3 separate regions of the Homo sapiens genome follow, and all the other regions are linked to region 3. Evidence: promoter capture Hi-C in 16 types of primary human blood cells and fetal thymus (Javierre and others, 2016). All regions are on one chromosome and are shown on one strand. The core of a region is centred on a gene start or on the middle of the fragment in contact, and the rest is flanking DNA. Distances in the headings are between cores, read along the strand shown.

The links. Contacts are between HindIII fragments. The CHiCAGO score rates a contact against its expected background, and 5 or more counts as called.
Region 1: a contact is called between a fragment that was not itself captured here and the fragment with the promoter of SLC37A4 in region 3, in 1 of 17 cell types (M1 macrophages). The highest score is 5.7, in M1 macrophages.
Region 2: a contact is called between the fragment with the promoter of MCAM here and the fragment with the promoter of SLC37A4 in region 3, in 1 of 17 cell types (neutrophils). The highest score is 7.0, in neutrophils.

Annotation. Positions count from the first base shown.
Region 1 is chr11:118,701,949-118,705,248 of GRCh38, forward strand. It overlaps LOC105369519 (a long non-coding RNA gene), which reads left to right. Exons shown (of 4, transcript XR_007062909.1): 3 at 2,660-2,890. It also overlaps the pseudogene RNU6-376P. Among named protein-coding and RNA genes, the nearest start is that of TREH, 24 kb to the left of the region's middle. RefSeq lists an enhancer at 2,766-3,267. The HindIII fragment of the contact is 1,242 bases long and covers 630-1,871 here.
Region 2 is chr11:119,315,457-119,318,499 of GRCh38, forward strand. MCAM (melanoma cell adhesion molecule) reads right to left here and starts at 1,674. Exons shown (of 16, transcript NM_006500.3): 1 at 1,579-1,674. The coding sequence starts at 1,645. RefSeq lists an enhancer at 1-360 and a silencer at 1,953-2,012. The HindIII fragment of the contact is 17,882 bases long and covers 1-3,043 here.
Region 3 is chr11:119,029,627-119,032,725 of GRCh38, forward strand. It overlaps SLC37A4 (solute carrier family 37 member 4), which reads right to left and starts at 1,251. Exons shown (of 10, transcript NM_001467.6): 1 at 1,223-1,251. RefSeq lists a silencer at 706-865. The HindIII fragment of the contact is 18,338 bases long and covers 1-3,099 here.

The DNA of each region.
Region 1 (3,300 bases), core at 1-2,500, 330 kb before region 3:
TTTGTCTTCAGTGTTATTCGGTTTCTCTAAAATGTATTTAACATAGTCTTATTTATTCTGCTCCAGAATTGTTGTGCTGCTATACCTCCGCCTTCTTTTCCTCTTTTCTTTCTTTTTTAATTTTTATTTTTGTAGAGGCAGTGTCTCACTTTGTTGCCCAGGGCGGTCTTGAACTCCTGGGCTCAAGAGCTCCTCCTGCCCAAAGTGTTGAGATTATAGGGATAAGCCACCACTCCTGGCCCCCTCCTTTTTTTCCTGGAAATTTTTTTGGTGCTTATGATGTGCAGTAATAAAAATACGATTTTAAGTGTTGGGGATTAAATAGTGAACAAAAAAGAGAAAGTCACTATCCTCATGATAGTGATATTTTATTTTATTTTATTTACATTCACAGTGCTTGGTTCACAGCACATATGCTAAAACTGGAACAATACAGAGAAGATTAGCACGGCCCCAGCACAAAGATGATGTGCAAATTCATGAAGTGTTCCATATTAAAAAAATAAAATAAAAATAGCAATACATTTACATTTTATTTTATAGCGACAGGGTCTCACTATGTTTCCCAGGCTGGTTTTGAACTCCTGACTTCAAGCGATCCTCCCGCATGAGCCACCATGCCTGGCCTAAGCTTACATTTTAGTTAGAGAAAGAGCCTGGGAATGAAGCTAGCATGGAGAAGAGCAGAGCTGAGATTTAAAGGGAGCAGATCCTGAAGCCTGGTTGAAAGCTGCATCGTTTCCCACCTGAATTCAACCACATTCATTTTCAGTAACACGAGCAGTAACTGCTTCTTGTTGTTTAAGCCAATTTAAATATATTTCTATGTCAATTACAAATGAAAGGGTATTAACTGTTAGGTGCCCAGCCTCAGCCTAATCTAGATGTTCTTTCTCTGCAACTTTGTATCTTCACTTAATTAGTTTACTTGAAAATTAATTAAATTAGGCCTGGTGCAGTGGCTCATGCTTGTAATCCCAGCACTTTGGGAGGCCGCGGCGGGCGGATCATGAGGTCAGGAGATCCAGACCATCCTGGCTAACATGGTGAAAACACGTCTCTACTAAAAATACAAAAAATTAGCCCGGTGTGGTGGCATGCGCCTGTAGTCCCAGCTACTGGAGAGGCTGAGGCAGGAGAAGCACTTGAGCCCAGGAGGCAGAGGTTGTGGTGAGCCGAGATCTCGCCACTGCACTCCAGCCTGGCGACAGAGCAATACTCCATCTCAAAAAATAAATAAATAAAATAAATAAATAAAAAAAAACACTGACACAGTGGGGATGAAGTTTCAATGTAAATTGCAGAGAGGACAACATTCAAACCATGGTACCTAGTCATAGTATTTTACTCTTTTCTTATGCTTTTAATTCCTGAAGTATCTAGACTTTCTAATCCTATTTTATAATACCTTTGTAGTCCTTATATAACATCTGTGTTTTGGTATTTGTTTCAGGTTTTTTCCTAAGTATGTGTCAAGATCCCATTTTCCAAGTCAAAAATGGGATTTTGCTACACATTATTTCATAACCTGCTCTTTGTTTTTCACATGATAAGGAACTTAAAACAACACACATCTTTTTCTGAGGGCAGAAATTTGGGCCCAGCTCACCTAGGTTCTCCGCTTCAGAGCTTTACCAGGCTGCTGTCCGGGTGCTGGCTGGGGCTATGGTCTCATCTGAGGCTCAGCTGGTCTCATCTAAGGCTTAATATTGGCCCCCAAGCTCCCTCAGACTGTTGGCAGAATTCTTCTCCTTATGGTTGTAAGACTAGAACTGGGGTTCATGTTTTCTTGTTGGCTGTCAGCCAGGGATGGCCCTTAGCAACTAGAGACTACAGTAGTTCCTTGTTGAGTGGCCCTGTCACCACAGAGAAGCTTACTTCTTCAAAGCCAGTAATAGACGGAGAGTCTCTGACCCTCTGAGAGGGCCCAGACACTCTTTCAAAGACTTCCACCTGATTTAGTCAGGCCCACCCATGAAAATGCCCCCTTGACTTCAAAATCAACTGACTTAGGACCCTAATTATGTCTGCAAAACCCCCTCACCTTTTTCACAGTCTATTAGCTGGAAGTAAGTTGCAGGTCCTACCGGCGCTCCAGGGGAGGAGGTTACACAGGGTGTGAACACCAGGGAGTGGGACCACAGGGCCCATCCCTGGGTCTATTCATACCATGTTTACCTTTCCATGTCAGTATCTTTTCTTTTCTTGGTTTTTTTTTTTTTTTTTTTTTTTCAGATGGAGTCTCACTTTGCTGGCCCAGGCTGGAGTGCCGTGGCCCCATCCTGGCTCACTGCAACCTCTGCCTCCCAGGTTCAAGTGATTCTCCTGCCTCAGCCTCCTGAGTAGCTGGGACTACAGGCATGTACCACCACACCTGGCTAATTTTTGTATTTTTAATAGAGATGGGGTTTCGCCACGTTGGCCAGGCTGGTCTTGAACTCCTGACCTGCAGGTGATACTGCCCGCCTAGGCCTCCCAAAGTGCTGGGATTTACAGGCACGAGCCACCGTGCACGGCTGTTATTATGTTTTCTACCACCTTCTAATGTTAATGGCCTCACAGCATTCTACTATGTGGATGTGTCAACATTTATTTAATTATTTATCACTAAGCACTGAATAAACATAAACATTTTAGTTTATTCCTTTTTTTCTTACAGACAGCGCTGGGGAGAATGAACGCCTGAGTACTCATGTCTTTATGCACTGTAGTATTATTTCCTTACAACAGACTCCTGAACCTGGAACGGCAGTGTCAAAGGGTTCACAAAATGTTAGACTTCTGAAGCAAATCAGATGGCACCTTTTTTGAATAATGAAGAATCTTTACCCCTGGCATGAGGAGCTGAGGACAACTCCCACTCCACGATGTGAAGCCACAGAGTTTCGAGGTAGTGGTTAATGGTGGTTGTGATTTTTTTGTTTTTGTTTTTGAGACAGAGTCTCTGTCACCCAGGCTGGGAGTGCAGTGGCACAATCTTGGCTCACCACAACCTCTGCCTCCCAGGTTCAAGCGATTCTCCTGCCTCAGCCTCCTGAGTAGCTGGGACAGGTGCCCGCCACCATGCCTGGCTAATTTTTGTATCTTTAGTAGAGACGAGGTTTCACCATGTTTGCCAGGCTGGTCTCGAACTCCTGACCTCAGGTGATCCACCCGCCTTGGCCTCCCAAAGTGCTGGAATTACAGGCGTTGAGCCACCACGCCCAGCTGGTTGTGATGTTCTAATTTGGACTTGGAAGTCAAATAATCGCCCCATGCCCTGTGGTTGCTGTGGTTGCATGCCCTGCCCCGGTGGAAGCT
Region 2 (3,043 bases), core at 424-2,923, 290 kb after region 3:
GGTCCTTGGAGCCAAGCAGAGATTGAGCAGAGACTGAGCACCGAACAGCTCCAGCTGAGGCTGGTAGAGGGGCAGAAAGGGGCAACCTAGGCTCGGGGCCAAGAGGAAGGCCCCTTTCCTTCCAGGCCCCCTCCTCTCCGGGTGAGCTCAGAGTGTGGGAATGCAAAGCATGTGCCAGGCTGGGGCACACAGGCCCTTTTGTGTCACCACCGCCAGGGGAAGACACCACTGCTCTATCCTCTGCCCTCCAAAATCCCTGCCCTCACTCCCCAGCGGGCTAACTCTGGCGGAAGTTCCGGTCTCATGCTCCCTCAGCAGCACCTCCATGAACACTCCGCACACACCCGCGGACCCCACCCTAGGTAGCTGGTAAGGATGGAGAGGTCAGAGTCTCCCCCAGGGGTCAGGGCAAGGGCCAGGCAGTGGGCAGGAGTGACGTCAGTGGTGCCAGCGTGCTGCCAGCCCTGTGAGGAGGTGATGTCACTCGACACCATCTGCCTGGGCTCTGGGATGCCTGGGTTGTTACCTTGGCTCTCGGACAAGGAGGGCAGGTGGAAGGTGGGGTCTCCAACCCAGAGCCTCAGACCCCTGACTCCTCCCAGAGCTAGAAGAGCAGGGCAGGGTGGAGCTGGACCGGCTGCAACTGTGGAGCCCGATTTAGCCCTTTCCCCAGAAATAAAGTCAGCCTGGGAGGCAGTAGCCTGGAATACCCCAGGGACATGGTTGGCACTGGGCATGAGGCCAGCGAGCTGGGTATTGCCTAGCCCTCCCCTTCCCCAGCCGGACAGCGGCTGGGACGGCGGAATGGGAGCCAAGAGAAACACGCGACACCGCTGCGGGCCATACAAGGGCAGCGTGGACCCGAGAGCGCCCTGCTACCAGGCGGATCCGGAGAAACGCTCCGAGGTGCCCGGGCGCACTTCCCACCTGAATGTGGTCCCCAAAATAAGCCAGCGGGCGCTTCCAGTATGGGAATCCTCCATCCCTCATCTCTGTCCCCTATGATCCCATCACTCGGGGAGGCGCGAGGCGACCCACACCGCCCCGCAACCCCTGCCAACGCCCAGCTCGGGCGGGAGCCGCCGAACCTCCCGCTCTCGCTCACCTCCAGCCTGGCGTGATGCCCAGGCAGAAGGGGGAAGGGGTGGGTCGGCGCACCCCCTCCAGCGAAGGAAGCTGCCTTTTCCAGCAACAGGCGGGCGCGGAATTCAGGCTTTGAGGATGCGCCCCAGCTGCGCCTCCTGCCCGGCTTCAATTGCGGGCCCCCAGAGTGAGCACCTCAGGGACCACCCACCCCCCAGCACCCCGAAAGGCTGAGCTCCACCCCTTCTCGTTCCCAGAAGCAGCCTCCTCCCCGCCTTCCGAGTGCTGCTCCCGGGATACTCTAGAATCCCGGCTGCAAACTGGCTGCAAAGAAGAGTTGCTCGCGCGCAAGGCGCCCGGGGATCGGGGACCCAGGGAGGAGGCTCGTCCTCCCAGACGCAACGCCCCGACCCCGCCGCGCCGCTGGCTCTGCTCCCTGGCACGCTCCACCGCAGACCCCTAGCCGGGGCGCGGCCCCCCTGCGAGCGAACTCACCCGCGACGCGAGGACAGCAGCAGCAGGCGGCGAGCAAGAAGGCGCAGACCAGCCTGGGAAGCCCCATGCTTCCCGGCCGGAGGGCGAGAGCCAAGTGAGCAGCTCGAGGCTGCCGGGGGCTGACGTCAGGGGGGCGGGGGAGGGGGCCCGGAGCGCCCGGGCCCGCCCCGCCCCGCGCAGCCCCCAGCCCCCGCCCCGCGCGCCGCAGCCCTAGGGGGCGGGCCCCGGCGCCGCCAGCCCGGGAGCTGCGCCTAGGAGCGCTGCCGGAGGTAGGCCAGAGCCGGACTCCCAGGCTCCTGGCTTGGGAAGGCTGAGGGGGTAGTGACAGGTGTCTCGGGGTCTGACTGGCCGAGGTGGCAGCGAGGAGAAGCTGTCCCGGATGCCCGGAGTCGCCCCGGGTCGAAGCCAGCCAGGCTCACCGCTGCTCAGCCCCTGCCAGCCAATGTAGCCCCTAGGGGACCTCCTGGGGGAGGAGCAGTAGCGGACCTGGTCCTCGGTGTCCCCAAGGGGCCTCCCACTTGGGCTCCCCTCCCTTGCCACAGAGAATTCAGGCCGGCCTCTATCGCTTCCCAGAACGATTGCACCACTGCCGCTGCCGCCGGCCTGACACTGCCTCAGCCTCAGTGCTGGCAGCTTTGGGAGAAGAACCCTGCGCCAGTCCCACAGACCCAGAAGTACCTGTATGGGGAGTGCAGACGATGCCTTCTGGGCTGTCCCTTCAAACGCAAGCTCCTGCAAGTCTAGCCTTTGACCAGAGAAAGGAAGGAGGGGGCTGAATTCGCAGGCCCAAGGTGTTCACACTTGTCCAGACCTGGGCCTTGAGAATCATGTTTCTTCCCTCTTCACTCTGGAGCCTACCCTGGAACTCAGTTTCCCCTCACCTAAGAGAAAGAAACAGGGAGAAGAAAGAGTTAATGGGCGAGGGTCCCCAGCCTGACCCTGCAAACCTGTTGCTGTTCCTGATGATTGAAAGGATCCCGGCAGCGCTGATCTTCCCCCACCCCATGTCTTCCCCAGCCCTATTGATTGTGGGTCCATAGCTGAGGGAAGAATCAAATCAGACCTGCTTGGGTGGGGAGCTCTGCAGCTCCCCTTCTCCCAAAACGCCGGCTTCTCCCTGGGTCTTCTGGCCTCTTGAACTAAGGCTCTAGGGAGGGGGAGGTGCTCTTGCCTCACTCTGACCCCAGCAGCCTGGCCTCAGAAAAGGGGTCCACATCTGCTGGCGCGCCTCCACCAGGGAGTGCCAAATAGGGGCCTGGATTTGGGTAGAGGTCTGTTGCCCAGCGGGGCCACCCCTTTGCTCGCTGGGGGAGGTGGAGGGTGAGCCAGCAAACCCTGGAGATGGCCAGGTGACTTGAGAGCATGCTCCGGGGTGGCGTTTTGATGACGCAGAGATGACTGGAAAACCACACCAGGCTTGTCTTTCAGAGCCTTCTCGACCCCTCCTCCAATGCCATTAGTCTCC
Region 3 (3,099 bases), core at 1-2,500:
CGGAAGGAGGCATGCCTGTGAGCCAGGCCAGCACCCTGTGTCCCCAGGATTTCTGCCTTTACCTCCTCTATCATGTCTGCTTGCCTGTGAAACCAGCTTTGATTAAAGGTTCAACCTAATTACTTTTGTCTGCCTGAGCCCAGGGGAGGCAGGGGTGGGATGAGCAGAGATGCCCTCTCTAGCCCTGCTCCCTCAGTCACAGAACCTTCTCATTCATTCACGGAAGGTTTATTAACTTACTAGTTGACAGGCACTGCACTTGGCACTATTAGTTTCTACACCCACTCACCACCACCGCACCAAAACACAAAGTCAGACACATACCCCGGCTACCCCACTTCTAAGCCTTCTAGAGAGGGCCTCAATCCGTGGAACTCTCAATACTTAGCACATAATAGATTTAATTGTTTCCTACAGTTGCCCCTTGTAATTCTGTGCAAGGGGGACCTCCCCAGTTCAGGTCCCACGGTGTCACACAGAAAGCCCCGCTAAGGGCTGAGGTCCTGATGGGGCCCCACAGAGCTACCTCTGGGTCCCCATTACCCTGCGACGTCAGTCTGGGCTTCCTTCGGGCTAGCTGGGGGCTGCAGGGTCTGGTTTCCAACCTGTGGGACGTTGGCAGGGGCCGCAAGCAGAGGGACTGGGCAGCTCGTGGGCGGGAAGGTGCCCCGGCGGGCTTCGGGCTGCAGGGCACAACCGTCCCGCCCAGGGCCCCGGCAACATGCCCCGGCTTTTCCGCTCAATTGGGAAAGCAACTGGAGCAGAAGGCGTAGGCGCACGCGGAGCGGGCGACCGCACGTATTCTCCCGGAGGCCCCGCGCTTCTGGCACCCAGAGGCTCAGCCTGGTAGGGGAGGGCCAGGCGGCGGGCGGGAGAGGAGGAGAGGCGGCGGGCGGCGAAGAGGCGGCGGGCTCGTGGCACCTGCCCAGCCCCGTGGGTCCTCACGCTACCCAGGACACGCTACTGTGCGGCTGGGAACCACGGGGGCCGGGGGTGCAGGAGCTGGAGAGGTGCGGAGACCACAGGACTGGCGCGATAGAAAGGGGTCTCGTGCTGGTGGTCAGGGACAGCGCCTCGGTGGCCCCAAGACCCATGAATTGTCTCTGGAACTGCAGGAACAGCTCCGGGTCGTATCGGAAGTTGGGGTTCGCCAACAATGGCTCCCCAAGACCTGAGATCCCCGCCCTCAGGTGACTCCCCTCCCCCGCATACCGCCTCCTACCTGAACAGAGGCGGGAGCCCGAATAGGACGGGGCGGGGCTAGCGAAGGCTGCGCAAGCGCGGCCGGCGGGGGCGTGGTCTTCGCCTGCTGCTTCGCTTGCCGGCCAGTGGAGTTCCCCGCCCCACATGCCGGGGACGTCGACTTACTCCCTCCCGCTGGTCACGCTGCTCCTTGGACGAACGAGCATAGCGCCCCTTAGGGGCTGGGCACGGCATGTCCAATTCTTAAGTGGTTGCATTCAACAAACCAGTTTTTAGTGAGTGCCCTCCTCTACAAAACACACCGAACACTAAGGTGATAATCATTGTTCCCAAGTTGCTCACAGTCTGGGAAAGGTGTTGTAGGAACACACAGTATTTTCTTTTTTTCTTTTTTTTTTTTTTTGAAACAGTCTCGCTCAGTCGCCCAGGCTGGAGTGCAGTGGCGCGATTTCGGCTCACTGCAAGCTCCTCCTCCCGGGTTCACACCATTCTCCTGCCTCAGCCTCCCGAGTAGCTGGGACTACGGGCGCCCACCACCACGCCCGGGTAATTTTTTGTATTTTTAGTAGAGACGGGGTTTCACCGTGTTTGCCAGGATGGTCTCGATCTCCTGACCTCGTGATCCGCTCACCTCGGCCTCCCAAAGTGCTGGGATTACAGGCGTGAGCCACCGCGCCCAGCCCACAATTTGGAATTTTAACTTGTGGTTAGATTGTTGGGGACAGAGACGGGGCCTGGAGTAAATATCAAATTCTAGTCCTAGACCCACAGCATTCTAACTGTATGACCTTGGTTAATCTCTATGAGCTCCCGTTTCCTACCAGCCTGGTAGATCATTGTGAAGACTCAACAGATGATTTAGATAAGAGCTCAGAAATTCTATAAGAGTTCTCAACAACAATGGTTTTCACTGATCCCAGTTAAGAGTTGTGAGGAGTAACAGTAGTGATGCTATTTTACAACAATGATGACTGTGTTCTCAGAAACAGAGCAAATGTTAACCCTGCCCATAGCTTCAACAGAAGGTAACATAGCCTAACAAAGTCCCCAACAGTCCCAATCAGCCAGCACTTCCCGACCTCTCCCCAATAGAAACGATATTATAAAAGCCTCAGCTTGTAAGCGATCAGGGTCTCAGCCAGACTCCTGACTGGAACTCCTTGCAGGCTTATTCCTGTGAATAAACCTGTTTGGCCGTTGAGTTGCCTCCTGTCTCTCGCTCTCTTCCCTTATATCTTCCTAACAAGAGTGGCTGAAGGAATTGTAAGTGTTCCAAAATTGAGAGCAAAGATCTTTTACTCCAGAGAAGATGGTCAGGGAAGGGAGGAGGAGGAGATGAGATAAAATAGGATGACAGGCCGGACGCGATGGCTCATGCTTGTAATCCCAGCACATTGGGAGGCCAAGGCGGGCAGATCACTTGAAGTCAGGAGTTCGAGACCAGCCTGGCCAACATGGTGAAACCCTGTCTCTACTAAAAATACCAAAATTAGCCAGGCTTGGTGGCACACGCCTGTAATCCCAGTTACTGGGGAGGCTGAGGCAGGAGAATTTCTTGGACCTGGGAAGCAGAGGTTGCAGTGAGCCGAGATCGTGCCACTGCACTCCAGCCTGGGTGACAGAGCGAGAGCCTGTCTCAAAAAAAAAAAAAAAAAAATAGGATGACGATGTCACTGAACTTCGTTAATTCAAAATCGGGGAGGAGCCTAGTTTGTACCAGGCACTGTGCTTTCAGCCAGGTAGATCCAAGGACCAGGAAACAGTTCCTCCGAAACCAAACCAGAGCAGATTCTTACTTTACCTAATAGAGGAGTAGGAAGCCATCAGGTTTTTCTCCGCTTTTATTTTTAAGATTTAACATACACATAATAAAATACAAAAAGTGCAGGAATCTTA